Regions from separate parts of the Homo sapiens genome. Here all the other regions are linked to region 1. Evidence: promoter capture Hi-C in 16 types of primary human blood cells and fetal thymus (Javierre and others, 2016). All regions are on one chromosome and are shown on one strand. Each heading gives the region's core, a stretch centred on a gene start or on the middle of the fragment in contact. The rest is flanking DNA. Distances are from core to core; before and after follow the strand shown. Region 1 holds the start of DBX1 (developing brain homeobox 1). Region 2 overlaps HTATIP2 (HIV-1 Tat interactive protein 2). Region 3 has its middle 13 kb from the start of HTATIP2. Region 4 has its middle 30 kb from the start of HTATIP2.

Region 1 (2,653 bases), core at 76-2,575:
CACATCTGTTATCTCGCCGAACAGAGAAATGGGGGGAATCGAGTCTTAGTACCACCTCAGCCCCAACCAGAGGAAAGCGAAGGGACTGTCTCCAGGAAGATTCTCCTTTGAAGCCCCACATTCAGGGGAGGCTTTCCCGGAGTGGACCAACATTCTTGGGAACCGCATCCCTTCCCTCTGGTTTTCACGCGTTTGTGCGTTGTAGTTAATTAAGAAGCTGCCAAACCTTGGGCCAAGTTAAGGGCCCCGCAAGTGGTAGGGTTCTCTCCAGACGACGTCTGGACCTTCGCTGCTATGGCTTAAAATGTCAGGGCTGTGAGTTTCAACTTAAACTGCCGAGAGCTCCCTGTGTTTGGAGAACGGCCAGCATAGCACTCACAGCCTTTGGATACCCTTGCCCGAGGCAGTTTCCGGTCAGCCTAAGCTCTTTGCAAGCGGAATCCTGCCGCTCGGCAGCCCAGCGCCGCTCTCCTCCGCTCCTCCCGCAAGGTGAGGTGCGGACAGCCCCTTGCAGAAACTCCTAGAGAAAATCGTTTTCCAAGTTGCTGGGAATTTGAAGGAGACTCGTTTTACTTTTCAGGTATCCACCAACGCTCAAACTCAACCAGTCTCCCGAAATGAAATAACTCCAGACCTCTCCCCACTCTTACGGACACACATCCAGTGGCCCCAAAGCATCCGTTTCCAAGTTTCCCTGAGTCGTCAGAATGGGACTTCTAACACTGATTTCACTCACCCCTACATTTGCTTTATGCTTCAGCTGGAGTAACGGATAGGGCTAGAGACCGGAAAGGGAGTATATTTTCATGTCCACTGACTTGAAACTTTTCATTGCCCTACCCCCACAAGAGGGAGGGCAACTTTGCTGATAGCCTGAAGATGTATTTCTATGAATATTTATTGATTTATTTTCCAGGCTTAGCAGGGGAGCTGCAAATAAATTTAGTGGGTTCTTTAAATAATTCCTTTTCTATGAGGCAAGATGTCATCTGAAACTTCTAAATAGGCATTTAATTAGCCCGGGTGTTGCTTCGGAACAAAAACCTTTGGCGAGAGCTTTGGGGGCGCACTGTATTGCAAAGAGGCGGTCGATATGCAAAATTGATGCGCGCGGGCCTTTGTTGCCGGCCCATTGTGCGGGCCATGCTTATGAAGACTAATCCAATCATAAATTGCACCCCTGCGCCAATCAGAGAGTCCAGAGCCTCCGGCGAATGAAGCTCGAGTGGAGAACTTTGTTGAACTTCATTGTCAGAGCTGTCACTTTTCAAAGTGCTTTAGCGGGCGGGCCACTATAAAACCATCACCTCGACGAGAGGACCACGGAGGACTCGCAGACGCCCAAGTGGGATTGTTACTTGGAGACGTTTGCTAAGCCCAAGAGAGAGGACACTGTGGGGGCGGGAGGGGCGGGAAGCGAGGCGTTTACCCTCCGGCCACTGAAAGAAGGGTTATTTCGCCCGCCCGCGCCTACCATGATGTTCCCCGGCCTCCTCGCGCCCCCCGCCGGGTACCCTAGCCTCCTGCGGCCCACGCCCACCTTGACGCTGCCCCAGTCCTTGCAGTCGGCATTTTCCGGCCACTCCAGCTTCCTGGTGGAGGATCTGATCCGCATCAGCCGACCCCCCGCCTACCTGCCCCGCAGCGTGCCCACCGCCAGCATGTCGCCGCCCAGGCAGGGGGCCCCCACGGCCCTCACCGACACGGGGGCCTCGGACCTGGGCTCCCCGGGTCCCGGCAGCCGACGGGGCGGCTCTCCGCCGACTGCCTTCTCCCCTGCCAGCGAGACGACGTTTCTGAAGTTTGGAGTGAACGCCATCCTCTCCTCGGGGCCCAGAACAGGTAAGCGAGGTCAGAACCCTAAGGGCCCATTCAGGTACTAGGCATGCGCGGAGTCATCCTGGCCTCAGTTTCCTCTAGCGAGCGGGCCCCCACACACACATCGGTGCACACACAATACGCACGAACTCTGAGACCCTACGTCAGGCAATGTGAGAATAGTCCAGTCAATTCCGGGGAAGAAAAGCCTCCAGGCTCGCCCCATCCTCGGAGTGAACTTGAGCACACGCAGTCGGAGACTGTGCGCAGTCATCTGGTGCAGTAACGCTGAGCGCACGCTCCTGGACGTCTGCGTTTCTGCCTTCGAGCTTCTAGGAGACAGTTTTTTTTTTTAAACTCAATATGATATATTTATTGGATTAGCAAATATTATAAATCTGCAATTTCTTTCCTCCCCACTCAGTCCTATCTCGTTAGTGCCTAGGATGGAGATTGGGGTAGAGTGGGACGGCGCAGAGAATTACGTTGGGGAGAAAGAAAAGAGTTTTACAGATAAGACAATGTTGGGAAGATTTATTTTACCCTGTCAACGTATAAGAAAGATGTCTTTGAAACCAGATGAAGGGCTAATTATATCGTGTGTTCAGTGTGCTATACAATAGGCAAGTACGTAATCAGATTCTTTCTGTCTCCCTCTCTCCTTCTGTCCCCCCTCCATCGCCCACCAGAAACATCCCCAGCCTTGCTCCAGAGCGTCCCTCCCAAGACCTTCGCCTTTCCCTACTTCGAAGGGTCTTTTCAGCCTTTCATCAGATCTTCTTATTTCCCAGGTAGGTCTCGTCCCCCTTCTTTGCGCGAGGCAGGGCGGCGCCCC
Region 2 (2,653 bases), core at 116-2,615, 220 kb before region 1:
CCACCATGCCTGGCTAATTTTTATATTTTTAGTAGTGACAGGGTTTCACCATGTTGGTCAGACTGGTCTTGAACTCCTGACCTCAAGTGATCTGCCCACCTCGGCTTCCCAAAGTCCTGAGATTACAGGCGTGATTGACCGCACCCGGCCCAAATATTAATTTTGAAGCTTTCTTACATCCTAGGACATTGCCAGAATAGCTGCTGGCTCTCTTGAGTTGGAGTCATCGTTCATGGATGCATCCCCAGTGCCTGTGTGCTCAGTGGCACATGAAAGGCACTGAATAAGCATTTGCTGAATGAATTAATGAACACTTGATTACCTGGGCCCATCCAACTTTTCCCTTCATCCTTCCAACATAAACTTTTTCTGTCTGTGTAACATTTGGTGGAAAACTTCCTGAATCCCTTAGTACTAAATGGAACACCCAGTCCATTCAGTGTTGACAATAAAACAAGTTAACACCCATTGTGGAGGAGTGATTGGGCCAGAGTCTTGTTCCTTAGTAAGTTCATATCTCACCACAATGCAGAGCTCAAGAGAGGGCTGCTTTTCTCTCTACTCCAAAGGTGAACACAGACCCTTCCTCATTATCCCACATCACTACTGAGACCAGAATAACATGTTGAATGAAACCTGCTCGAAGGTTTGTGAGTAAGGAAATAATATAAGGAGAATAACTTAAAACAGGCCACTGGGTTTAGCTGCTTTCAGAGCCCAGAGGCCTCAACATATCCTCGGCCCATGCTTTTTCACCATCAAAACAACACACTTAGGCTCTTCAAAGTCCAACTCCCAGGGAACCCCACCTGGCAGAAGGAAGATATTTCATTTCCTTTTAAAGCTCACATTTCAATATCCCACCCTGCCCTAAAATATGCCTCTTTTTTGGGTGACTGACACTGGGAATGTCTTCTCCCTTCTAAGGATATACACTCCAAATTAAGGAGAATGGCCTTTATCCTCCAGTGTATACTGAAGCTTGAAATGTACTTGGCATACAGTAGGCCTTGGAAGAATTGACTGAGTCCCTCGAATCACTTTGCTTCCCTGGTGCAGACGTTAAGACAAGTTACATTAACATCTTTTGTTCTATGATGGAAATTAGCAATGTATGTTCCTCTTGGCTTTGACCCTTCCTTCTGCATCTTCCTTTGCCTTAATTTTTAAAGTGCAGCAGCATGAGCACTTTAAAGTTTGGTGGCATAGAATTTTACTGGCTATGTGAACATTTAGTAATTAATCACTAGAACAAAGGAGAAACCCAAATATTTCGATTTTGTTCATCCACAACATGTAGTAACAATCAACTGGAACTACCTGGAAATATACGGGAACAGAATGCTTTTGCAGGGTGCTTAAAAACACGATATATGGGATCTATGGGATCAGGCAGACCTGGGTTAGAATCCTGACTCTGCCATTTCTTTGCTTCAGTTCTTCAGATTTGGACTCTTGAGCAAGGCACTTAACCACAGTGAGCCTCATTTCCCCATCTAAGACATGAAGATCATGATAGTATCACTTTATAAGGATTGTTTATAAGAGGGTTAAAGCACAGATAACACATGTAAAGACTGGTACTTAGCAAGCATTTGGTAAATATTAGCTGCTATTATATCACCCCATAGGCTGAAATGCTGCATATCACACTACATGGGCATTTTCAAGCAATCTAAGAGGCACCCAGGAGTTGTCCATTCATCTTTATTCCTTTATTTAATCCTCCCCATGTATTATATAAGCTTAGGTATATAACTTCTATTACATAAAGAAGTAGTAAAGGCACAATGTTTACTTACACAATTACATGTAGTGAATTAGCACTTTTGTAACTCAGAGACATGAATGTCAACAATTTTAGAGCAGAGCTCATTTGCACGGTCATAAGGTTTTCATGGCTGCTGTGACTCTGCAGACAAGCATTTCAAAGCAGGCCCCCCAGCCAGTGGCATCGGAACCAGTGGCATCAGGGGAAGTATAAACAAAGAAAATTACAGATTATTGTGCCCACACCCCAGAAATTTTGATTCAAGTTTGAGATAGGGCTGACAAATCTTTATTTTTCCAAAGCTCCCTGAGTGATCTATATGTATAACCAGGCTCTGAACCACTGATGCAGAGCACCATCATTTCTTGATTGGAATGGATGCCTGAGGATAGTAAAACAACAAAGTTAAAACATGCTGACTTTTTTTAGACCCTGAAATTACCGATTTGGTGATGGGTGTTAAGGTTGACAATAAAAACCATTTCTCCAATGTGGTCATGGCTTGAGAGAGCCATGCGCTTTCCCCAGGTCATGGATGGCCTTGTTCTCCAGCAGTTCCATCTGCTTGTCTCTTGGTCTCACCACATTGTTCAGCATTGCTCTAACCACGGTCACCACAGGCACAGAATGCCCACTGGCCCAAGAGTCTGGTAAGGAGCCAAAGAACTTTCTAACCAGCCATTCACCTGGGCGAGATTCTTGCCTATCACATAACAGAACTCTAAAATAAAAAAAAAAAAAAAAGAAAGAAAAGCAGAGGAAGAGGTGGTAAATTGCACTGAGACCACAGTGGGCATTACGGACAAAACTGTATCCCCTCAATATTCTAATGTTGAAGCCCTAATCCCCAAGGTGTCTATATTTGAAGATAAGGCATTAAGG
Region 3 (2,653 bases), core at 85-2,584, 190 kb before region 1:
CCTCAAACTTTAAAGTGGCAGCTGGAGATCAAAGAGCTTGGAAATTAAAACACAGCCTAGACCTCTCCCTTCTAGGGAGGAAGAAGAGTCTAGAGACTGAAAGGCAGACAGCCAGGAGGAAAAGACATGGAATGTTCCTTGAGGCTAAATTCCCTCTTGGCAATGACATTAGAAGAGCTGAGCTAAGAAACATATTTTTCTCCCAGTTTAAAAGAAAGCTGGGGAGAAGGGCTGAGGAATGAATGCCTTATTCAGTCGTCTCAGATTGTGAGCAGAAGCTTGGGTGGGTGCAGGTGAACATCCCACTAGAAAGCAAACTCCATGAAGACAGGAGTTGTATCTGTTTGGTTCATTACTATATTCCTGCCACCTGGATTAGTGCCTGGCACTTGGCGGATGCTCAGTAAATATTGAGTAAATATATCGAGACACTCCTTAGAGTAGGGAAAAGTGCAAACCTATTTTTGGAGCTTGGGGAATGCAAAAATAAATTTTAATGAAATTATATATATTTTCTTAAAAATTCATGCAAATTTTATGCTGTGTCATCTATTGGTGTTTATTTTTACATCAATGAGTGACAACACTTGTAGCAGACAGCTGTACTGTTTTATCCAGCATCGATTCCTTATTTCCTTTGTGGCCCGCCCCTTCCCATTCCCCGTCCTGCAGGTGACTCTAGCAGCAATTCTACTTTCAACTCTAAGGCTGGGCCTATGATTCACTTCTAGCCAGTCTGAACGTTTCCTTCCCCGACAACAGCGATTGTTTTAGGGTTAGGCACATTACTCAATCAGACCTCATGTGACATAATTCCTATTTGGCTGTTAACCATGAAAAGAGATGCACTGTCTTCCCTACTGGACCTGGACCTGTGCGGGTATTTGTCTGTGTAGGAGAGGAAAACCAACCTTTCCTTCTATCCTTCTAAGTTCTTAGCTGAAGCCCCTATAACCAAGGACAGATTAACAAGAGAAAGTCATATGAATGTATTTAAGATGTTTTATGTGACATGGAAGCCTTCATTAGGAAATAAAGACCCAAAAAGGAGGTTAAAGACAGTCCCAATAAAAATATGAGCCGTCAGGTTTTAGCTCTCCGTGGTGCCATTTTAGGAGGCTAGAGAAAAATGTGAAACATTAATTTGAAGAGCTGTAGACAGATATTGGAGGAAACTAGAAGATTCAGGACTCAGTTTATAGGTAGATAACAAAACCTTAAAGACAATGAACAAGACTAAAATGGAATACTCACAAAGCTGTGCTACAGGTTTCCATTGAAACATAATTTTTCTCTCTACAATCACCTCCATTTCTCTAAAAAATAATCAAAGTGAAACTAATTTGTTTGCAAAAGGAGCCTAGTCTCATTAAACTTGGTCGGATTGTTGACAATACTACAGCAAGAATAGTGACTGACCACATAGGTCCCTTTCTTTTAGTTCGCTTTGCTAAAACTTTGCATAAAAAAATCTCAGATTAGACTTTTAAAAGCCTCTTAAGGCTAGGAAGCCATGCCAGGGACTTGCCATCAGACCTTGCCTGCAATCTCTGCATATTTAGGCAAATTCCTCTTTTCTTAAGGTTCCCCCAATATTATGAAGTTCCTGGGCCTGCAAGAACTGAAAAGACAACATGAAGCACAGGAAATTATTTTGATCAGACACAAATCTTTGTTTGCTAGGCAGGTTACTTAAAAGGTAAAGAAAAGCCATTTTACAATTTCTTTTTAAGAGAAGACCCATAATCCAAAAAACCATCATTTTACTGTTGCATCATACATTTATGACACTAACATTCTTTTTTTCCCTTTTTCTTTTCTTTTCTCTCTTTCTTTCTTTTTTTTTTTTTTTTTTTTTTTTTTTTTTTTTTGGAGACAGGGTCTTGCTCTGTTGCCCAGCCTAGAGTACAATGACACAATCACTGCTCACTGCAGCCTCACCCTTCCAGGCTCAAGCGATCCTTCCACCTCAGCCTCCTGAATAGCTGAGACTGTCGGAATGCACCACCACACTTGGCTAATTTTTTTTACTTTTTATTTTGTAGAGATGGGGTCTTGCTATGTTGACCAGGCTGGTCTCAAACTCCTTGTCTCAAGTGATCCTTCCACCTCAGCCTCCCAAAATGCTGGGATTACAGGCGTGAGCCACCATGCCAGCCTCATCTCACATTTCTTATAGGTATATGCTGTTTCCTCATAGTACAATTTCTCATATTTATTAGCAGACTCAAATATATTTAGATTCTCTATACTGCATAAAAACAAGATGACAGAAGTATACAAACTTAAACTTATATTCAGCAATTAATGTTTCATTGTTTCATCTTATTTGGAAATGATCTAGATGTTCAATGAATACTCATAATTTAACTTAACTTACTAAAGCTTTAAGGTTTCAAATTACCAAAAAGAGTGGAAACTATTTTTAAGTAGACATATTAAAAACCATAATTTATACATCATAATTATTGCTGAAAAGTTCATTTACAAACTTTTATCCCACTTACAGTAATTCACTTGTTCTTAGTAATTATGCTTGAATTGCTCATGAAAATTTCATGAGATATTAAACACAGCCATCACCTCAAATTATTTTTTGTTTTTGCTGACAAATCAGGCAAATATCAAAAATATCACAGGAGCAAAGAACCTA
Region 4 (2,653 bases), core at 83-2,582, 170 kb before region 1:
ACTAATTTTTGTATTTTTAGTAGAGACAGGGGTTTCACTATATTTGCCAGGCTGGTCTCGAACTCTTGACCTCAAGTGATCTGCCCGCCTTGGCCTCCCAAAGTGCTGGGATTTCAGGTGTGAGCCACCGCGCCCAGCCGAAGACTCTATTCTTATCTTACTAATTGATTTCAAGAGTTTACTAACACAGATGTTTAAGTTCTTTCCCAGAGCCCAAAGTGAATCTGATATTTTTGTAGTAGTCTCCACAAACTTCCAAATGTGTACACCATGCTGTTGTAGAAAGAGCACTGAACTTGGAAGCAAAAGACCTGGATTTGACACTTCCTATTTGACCTTTGACAACTCCTTAATCTTTCTTGGGTTCAGTTTCCTTATTGGAACAGTGAAGCTAGTAATTCTTCACTAATCTATCTCAAAGGAAGTTGTGAGAATCAAATGAACAAAGATATGTAAAAACACATAACAATTGTAAAGTTGCAGACTTTTAAGTCTCATGATATTTAGGAAGTATAGAAAGAAGTAAAACTTTAGGTCTTAAGTATTTATTTTGCTACGGATTTTGGTTATGATTGTTTTCAGTTTACATTAGACATACCCTTTATGCAGGGGTCTGATCCCCAGGCCTAACATCTACAAAATTTCAACATCCATCCATCGCTTAGATTCTTTTTAAGCATATTGGGAGCTGTGAAGTCATATAAATTAAGCTGTTGCAAAAATGGTTAGTGCTATTCTATTAAGAATTACAGTGAACCACCTGTTTCAGAAAATCCTGAGGCTACATTGTTTAATGAGGGCTAGGCTGAGTAGTTTTTCTTGGAAACTATAAGGCATATCCTTTATGAATGAATCTAGTTTGCAAGGAACTTGACTACACAGAGAATCATCTGATCCTAACATGGTAGTCAGCATCCCCAACTCAAAAGACCATATTGAAATCAAAGAAGCAAGGAGAGTATCTGCCATTTGTATAGTGCAGTTTTCTAAGTTCTTCCATATATTACAAATAGAATGTGTAATATGACTTACATCATTGGAATAATCTCAGTAATTTGAGAAGTGGCAACAAAAAGTAAGGAAGTAAATGTCATAAGTTCAACCACTTAAATATCTTAAGGCAAAACTGTAGGGAGATTAAAAACACAGATGTAAAAAGTGTGTATCCAAACTCAGGTGTGATACTAACATCCATCAGAATACAAAGCTGTACCATTTATGCAATGGAGTGGAGATTTGTACCTTCTCCTCATTTGTTTCCTTTTTCTCATTCTAACTTTCCTTTGGAAAACCATCACTCATTGCCTAGCATCCATACACTTTGGGTGTTATAGACGTTATACTTTGGTCCTGGGGTGGGCTCTGATTGCTCTCAATCAATCTGGTTGATCCTTACTTCTTTGACATTATTCAGGATTGGTCTAAGCACAGTGAAACTCAGACCTGTGTTTGAAGGATGCGTAAAGCATCCTCTTTTCCAGGATGTGAAGGAGAAAGCCCAGTCTTCTGCTGTCAGCTATCTTAAGACTATGCCTGAAGCCCACCTAATGATAAGTTCACCCACACTGAAGAGCAGGGTGGAGAGGTGTGTGGAGAAAAGAGGTGAAGCCTAAACCATCTCATGGCTTATCAAGTATGAAAGCCAACACATTTTCTGCATATTTAAGCTACTTTGAAATGGATTTTCTCTTACTTGCAACCTAAATCACCCTAAATGATATATTTAATATACAAAGCACTTTTTGGTTTTGTTGTTGTTGTTTTGCTTTTTGAGGCAGGGTCTTTCTCTGTGTTATCTAGGCTAAGTGTAATGGTGTATCACTGCTCATTGCAGCCTCAACCTGCTGGTCTCAAGCGATCTTCCCACCTCAGCCCCCCAAGTAGCTGGAACTACAGATGCATGCCACAAAGCCCAGGTAATTTAAAATTTTTTTGTAGAGATGGGGTCTCACTATGTTGCCCAGGCTGGTCCTGAACTCCTGGGCTCAAGTTATCCTTCTGCTTTGGCCTCCCAAAGTGCTGGGATTACAGGTGTGAGCCACCATCCCCAGCCATAAAATACTTTTGCATCATATATTGCGTAATTGTACATTCACAATGACTCTGTAGAGTGGGTTTCACTGTTATTCCCATTTTACAGAAGAGGAAGGGAATCTCAGAGGTTTATGACCTGCATAAAGGCCATACCAGGCAAGTGTTGGAGCCAGAAATTGAATCAGGTGTTCTAGCCTAAGAGCAATTGCTTTCTGCTCTACCACGTCATGTTGAAAAGCCAAATTAAAGGCAGATTTTTGGGTTTTTATGACCTAGGAAGCATATAAGATTGTTTAATTATTAATATTATTAAAAATGGCAGGCACAAATTATAAAACTTAAAATCTGAATCTTTTGTTTGCAGCAGTGGTTGGATTCCTTAATTTAAAAAATCCTTTTGACATATGGGCCCTAACCTGTGGTCTGAGTATGCTGTAACTTTCATTGACTATACTGTAGTTTTAGCTCTGTACTGTACAACCAGGCAGCAATGATGATCTTCCGTTATGTGAAAGCTGGGATTATACACCTTTATGGTTAGTGCTACTAGCCCTGCAGTTAAGAGTGTCCAGCAAAAATCTTTGAATTGCTACCAGTTTCAAAACCCTATTCTTTGAAG

What was found. Contacts are between HindIII fragments. The CHiCAGO score rates a contact against its expected background, and 5 or more counts as called.
Region 2: a contact is called between a fragment that was not itself captured here and the fragment with the promoter of DBX1 in region 1, in 2 of 17 cell types (activated CD4 T cells and non-activated CD4 T cells). The highest score is 7.0, in activated CD4 T cells.
Region 3: a contact is called between a fragment that was not itself captured here and the fragment with the promoter of DBX1 in region 1, in 8 of 17 cell types (activated CD4 T cells, naive CD4 T cells, fetal thymus and 5 more). The highest score is 11.6, in activated CD4 T cells.
Region 4: a contact is called between a fragment that was not itself captured here and the fragment with the promoter of DBX1 in region 1, in 3 of 17 cell types (fetal thymus, activated CD4 T cells and endothelial precursors). The highest score is 7.4, in fetal thymus.

The regions. Positions count from the first base shown.
Region 1 is chr11:20,159,147-20,161,799 of GRCh38, reverse strand. It overlaps DBX1 (developing brain homeobox 1), which reads left to right and starts at 1,325. Exons shown (of 4, transcript NM_001029865.4): 1 at 1,325-1,842; 2 at 2,508-2,609. The coding sequence starts at 1,476. RefSeq lists enhancers at 1-443, 444-945. The HindIII fragment of the contact is 3,864 bases long and covers 1-2,653 here.
Region 2 is chr11:20,382,819-20,385,471 of GRCh38, reverse strand. HTATIP2 (HIV-1 Tat interactive protein 2) reads right to left here. Exons shown (of 5, transcript NM_001098522.2): 5 at 1,690-2,492. The coding sequence ends at 2,267. Among named protein-coding and RNA genes, the nearest start is that of PRMT3, 3.6 kb to the left of the region's middle. RefSeq lists an enhancer at 1-429 and a silencer at 362-562. The HindIII fragment of the contact is 764 bases long and covers 984-1,747 here.
Region 3 is chr11:20,349,423-20,352,075 of GRCh38, reverse strand. No RefSeq gene overlaps it. Among named protein-coding and RNA genes, the nearest start is that of HTATIP2, 13 kb to the left of the region's middle. The HindIII fragment of the contact is 2,107 bases long and covers 281-2,387 here.
Region 4 is chr11:20,331,990-20,334,642 of GRCh38, reverse strand. No RefSeq gene overlaps it. Among named protein-coding and RNA genes, the nearest start is that of HTATIP2, 30 kb to the left of the region's middle. The HindIII fragment of the contact is 4,082 bases long and covers 1-2,653 here.